2 separate regions of the Homo sapiens genome follow, and region 2 is linked to region 1. The links are contacts of gene promoters, found by promoter capture Hi-C in blood cells and fetal thymus (Javierre and others, 2016). All regions are on one chromosome and are shown on one strand. Each heading gives the region's core, a stretch centred on a gene start or on the middle of the fragment in contact. The rest is flanking DNA. Distances are from core to core; before and after follow the strand shown.

What was found. Contacts are between HindIII fragments. The CHiCAGO score rates a contact against its expected background, and 5 or more counts as called.
Region 2: a contact is called between a fragment that was not itself captured here and the fragment with the promoter of DMRT2 in region 1, in 1 of 17 cell types (monocytes). The highest score is 6.1, in monocytes.

Annotation. Positions count from the first base shown.
Region 1 is chr9:1,049,107-1,051,606 of GRCh38, reverse strand. It overlaps DMRT2 (doublesex and mab-3 related transcription factor 2), which reads right to left and starts at 1,250. Exons shown (of 4, transcript NM_181872.6): 1 at 832-1,250; 2 at 1-37. RefSeq lists an enhancer at 609-1,478. The HindIII fragment of the contact is 13,820 bases long and covers 1-2,500 here.
Region 2 is chr9:886,101-889,175 of GRCh38, reverse strand. All of the region lies in intron 2 of DMRT1 (doublesex and mab-3 related transcription factor 1), which reads right to left. Among named protein-coding and RNA genes, the nearest start is that of DMRT1, 46 kb to the right of the region's middle. The HindIII fragment of the contact is 605 bases long and covers 1,267-1,871 here.

The DNA.
Region 1 (2,500 bases), core at 1-2,500:
GGGGCTTCGCTGGGGCCTGAGCCTGGCGGCCCTCACTCTGGGGAAACACAAAGAAATCCAAAGACCCACCGGCCGCCGTCAGGGACCATCCCTGAGCCTCCGGCCCAAAGCTCCTGGTCTGCCCGCCTCCGGCCGCTTGAGTCATCCTGTTCTCATTACATGTCCCTCACTTCCAGGCCACACGTGCCTTTCCTGTATCTCCAGGGCCCCCAGGGATCCACAACCCAACAAAGGTTTTATTTTATTAATTCTAAGTGCTCTGTGAGTACCTGACCTTTAACCGTGGCCCTCTCTGGCTTTACACGGGCTTTCCGGACAAGTCCCTGGGTAACTCACTTATCACACACACACAAAATATTGTGTCCAAATAGGCAGCCCCAGGCCACTTGTCGGATTTCCCCATACTCAACTAGTATGGCCATGATGCATATAAAACTATCCGTGGAAGAACAGTTTTCCTTTGATTACAAGTGGCCCTTCAGACTCACTGAAGTACCACTCTATGCTTCCCAAATGCCTCTCATCAGCCTACACCACCACAAGGACCCCTCCTTGGGCTTGAAGAGGTCCTCTCACCCCCCTCCCCAAAATACTCAACTGAAAACCAAAATTTTGTTGTCATTAGCGTCCCATAAGGGCAAAGAGCACAATACAGACGCCCGTCCAGCCTTAATAGTACCTGAGGTGCACAGGGCTGAGCCGCGTGGGCTCTCTGTACTTAGGCCTTGGTTTATATATTTAAGGTAAGGCATCCAAGTCACACAGAAAAGGTGAAAGATGATTCACGCCCTTTGCCCTCCCTGACACCCCGAGCGGCATCACAGCACTCACCAAAACTTTGAGGCCCGGGCTGGTAGCCCAGTTAAAAGATATCCAGCTTTAGGATCTGGCGCTAGGGCTGCTGGCTGTGCATGCAAACAGAAATCGGGGTCGCTACCCTCAAACACGAGATCGGGAGCTGATAGCTGGAGGCCCGGAACGAACCCACTGGATGGTGGAGGGGGAGGGAGAAGGTAGGTGGAGGGAAGGAGGGAGGAAGCCAGTCAAGTCCTCAGCGACCTAGCCCAGCACATCCCGAACTCTGCAAAGTTCTGCTCGGTCTTCTGCAGCCTCGGGCGCCTCACCTTGCTGAGGCCGCTTTCGGCTTCCTCTGACCCAGGCTGGGCGGGAAAGGTCGGGCCGCCCCCGCCTGGCTCAGATCGCTGGCTCACCCGGCGGGCGCGCGCAGTTGCATTCAGCGCAGCGCCACTGGCTTCAGTCTGCAGACTGCGCTCCCCTTCCTAGTACTGTCCGCTCAGGCCCCGGAGCTTTACGTCCTCTGATTGGCCGGTTGTCAGGCGGTGTGAATACTGATTGGCCGAGGCACGCTGGCAGGGAGCCCTCCGCCTCCCGCGGTCTACACTCTTCTCTCTGAAGCGCTCCGCCAGAGTCCGCCTACCGGGCCTTCGGTGCAGCCGGCTCGCCTGTCCAGAATCTAAACCCGAGGTATGACGGTGCCTGCAAGAGAGAAGTCACCATTTATCTCGCGGACTGGGAAACAAGCAGAGATACATTCTTAGGAATGCGTTGTCCACAAGAGAAGGTAATAAACGACGAGGAAGAGATCAGAAAGACCAGTATTGGCCTCTATCAGCATCACAAGCATTTCTGCGACTCAATCAATCATTAATCCAAACTGGGCGTAAAAATGATGCCTCTCTTTCGGGGCGTACAGCGACATCCTTCTTTCTCCTGCAAGAGTACATCAATGGTTACCTGGCACCGAAACTCCTAGTTAGCATACAAATAGCCTGTTGATATTTCTGTGTCTAGTGCCACCTATTCTCGAAGTGCCAAATAGCTCCTCATTAACCTTCACCGAGCCCGTGTGGCAGGTGGCCAAGTCGACTACAAGTCACTTACATTTTTCTGTTATATCAGTTGCTATTACAGTTAATGTAGGGAAGATCAGAAATGCATGCTATTAAGAGAATTAGGTAAATCCATTCACACTAAGCATGCATTTAAACAAAGTTATTTTTAAAAAGATGACTACTTTTTAGTGTGCGTAGTTGTATTTATAGACTTTCTAACGACTCCCTCAAAAAATCCTTTACAAAATGTTTAACGATAAAAAATTTTCAACATATTAAAAGAAGGAATTAGTCTTCTAATTCAACGCTGCATTCTATTTCTTGAACTCAATTAAAAATAATATGGGCGCTTTTCTAACTGCATCTGTAAATAATCAAGACCTCTCGAGTAGGATCTGTTTAGGAGACTACAAAATTGGGTATCATTGCACTGAGTACATAGTAGGCCCGCAACAAATATTTGTTGAAGGGTGGGAATTCCTGACGTAATCCCAACGTTACTTTTGTCCGAGTTTGTCAGAATGTTAAAAGTTAACCTGGATCAGAGAAGTGGGAACAAAGGCAGCTTAGGAACTACCGCGACCAGCCAGAAGCACTATTCTCAAACCTTCAGTGATGTTGTAAAGTTCCTCCCCGGTGACCAGGCA
Region 2 (3,075 bases), core at 320-2,819, 160 kb after region 1:
GTTGAAATTAATATCTGTCAAGCTACATGTGTCTAATCCAATGGTTCGCACAGTGTGGTCCCTGAATCAGTAGCATCAGCATTACCTGGGAACGTAAAGAAATGCAAATTCTTGGGCCCCACCACAGACTGACAAAATCATACACCCCGAGAATGGCGCCCAGCAATCTGAATTTTACTAAGCTCTCCAGAAATTCTTTTTTTTTTTTTTTAATACAGATGGGGTCTCACCATGTTGCCTAGGCTGGTCTCAAACTCCTGGGCTCAAGATATCCTCCTGCCTTACCCTCCCAAAGTGCTGGGATTATAGGTGTGAGCCACTGCATCCAGCCCAGGAGATTCTGATGTGCTAAAACTGTTGAGACACACGGCTGTACTCTCAAAATTCAAAGCAACTGCTCCACACGCTATTCCTAAAAATATGAGATACCTTCATGCCCCTGACTGCATCGCTGTGACAGTCCTGACTATTAACAACTGCTCCACACGCTATTCCTAAAAATATGAGATACCTTCATGCCCCTGACTGCATCGCTGTGACAGTCCTGACTATTAAATAAAAGTATACAACAAATGAGGTCAGGCACAGTGGCTCCTGGCTATAATCCCAGCACTTTGGGAGGCCGAGGTACAAGGTTCACTTGAGCCCAGGAGTTCGAGACCAACCTGGGCAAACAAAACCCCTCTACAAAACATATAAAAATTGGCTGGGCATGGTGGTGCATGCCTGTAGTCCCAGCCACTAAGGGAGGCTGAGGAAGGAGAATCACTTTAGCCTGGGAGGCAGAGGGTGCAGTGAGCCGAGATCGCACCACTGCACTCCAGCCTGGGCAAAGGGGCAAGACTCTGTCTCAAAAGGAAAAAAAAAAAAAAAGAATTCCATTGTATTGAAAAGCTAGGCTTCTACCTAAATCACTCAGAGCTTAGATCCCAAGCTGTATGTACTGTGTGTGTATCGCTGCCAAATGGTTGTGAGTTTCATGGCTTACATCCAGACTTTCTTCATTTATTCTAACCACAGTAACTTAATTCATCTATTCAAATGCTTATTCCAGTTGACAAATATTTATTAAGCACCTACTATTTGTCAGGCATTCAGTTAGATACAAAACATTGCAGAGTCAAAATTTAATATTCTTCAGAAGACTTCTGGGTAATCCAGAGGAGCAGGTGTTACAAAAATCATTTATTCTTGACCTTAAGTTGTATTTTTATATTTAGATTTGATTCATTCACTAGTTATCATATAACAACTATGTTCAAAGCTTTCTTTAAATGTTGTCAAAGGCACAAAAACATACTTTAAACATTACATTTTTTCTTAAGAATTTGCCATCTATTTGGGGAAATTAGGTGCAAACTGGGAAATCTACAAAGCAATAATCCAAGTGCCGCAGTGACAGTATAGATAATGTCACCAAATGGTTCTATATAGAGAGGTGTCAGAAAAGGCCACGGTGAGTGATGAGCCAGAGTGGAGGTGATTTAGAGACAGTGGGTAAACACTCAAAAAAAGGAGAATAATACCAATAGAGTCATGAGGGAGGTCAACAGAGGCCCAAAGGAGAGAAAGGACAAGACGCGCTCCAGCCACAGTGACCAGATGAGCCTGGCTGGACTGCAGAGTTCACAAGTGACAACTGCAAATGAGAATGGAAGGTTATGCTGGAGTTAATTGCTGAAGACCCTGAATGTGAATGCCAGGCCAACAAGTTCTCCTCTAGGGAACCAATGAAGGTTTTCAGAGCAAGGGAGTAGCAGAAATATATTTGGGAATCTGGTCAAAGCACAAAAAACAGACCTAAGAGAATAAGGAGATGGGGGAATAGACTAGGTGCTTTAAATACTCCAGGCAAGAAGTCACTTTAAGCTTGCACAAGGAGGCCGTAGTAAAGGAAGGAACTTCATGAAAATCACTGGCAGATCTCCTTTTCTATGAATTCCCTCCAAACAACTAAGTTACATTGTTTGTTTGTTTGAGAGACAGTCTCACATTGTTTCCCAGGCTGGAGTGCAGTGGCGTGATCTCCTGATCTCGGCTCACTGCAACCTCCGCCTCCCAGGTTCAAGTGATTCTCCTGCCTCAGCCTCTGGAGTAGCTGAGATTATAGGCTCCCGCCACCACGCCCAGCTAATAAATTACATTGTTAATATCTGTCATCCAGAGACCAGGAAAGCAATCCAGATTCCCTTTTGATGCTTGTTCAACTGCTGAGTGATCATAGAATAAGCAGCTTCAGAAGGAATATCCGATTCCTTGCCCAGACTGACAGAGGATAAGCATAAGCAGAGTATACCTACCATCTGTCCAGCCCATGCTACAGCAAACTCCCCAGAGAGAAGCCAGCAATATTTGCTTCAACACTGGGGTGTCAGCAAAGATGGCAGGCCAGCCTAAGTGTCCCTATTAATTGATGATAAACCTAAAAGTAATATTTCCAACTGATACGCCACAAAACACACAAATTTATCATACAAAATTTAAAATATGTATATATTTATATATACATAAAGTTTTCAAAAAGTGGTTTTCCACATACAATTAATAAGCTCCCCCAACCATATCCATTCCCACTCTGAGCCACAGGAAAAAAAAAAGTCACAGTAAGAAGTGACAGTTTGGCCGTACACGGTGGCTCACGCGTGTAATCCCAACACTTTGGGAGGCTGCGGCGGGTGGATCACTTGAGGTCAGGAGTTTGGGACCAACCTGGCCAACATGGCAAAACCCCATCTCAAAAAACAGAAAAACTAGCCGGGCGTGTATCTGGCCCGTGCCTGTAGTCCCAGCTACTCAGAAGGCTGAGGCAGGAGAATCGCTTGAACCCAGGAGGCGGAGGTTGCAGTGAGCCGAGATCGCACCATTGCACTGCAGCCTGGGTGACAGAGCGAGACTCCGCTCAAAAATAAAAAACAAACAAACAAAAAAACACAGTTGGCTCCATGAACCTGAGCTGAATGCACCAATGTTTATCAAGTCCCTTGATCTGAGTATGAATTACTCCTGCCAGTCTCCATGGCTTGTGTGCACTGTAACACGGACTTTTAAAACTGCATGGCCAATACAACTAAGTAC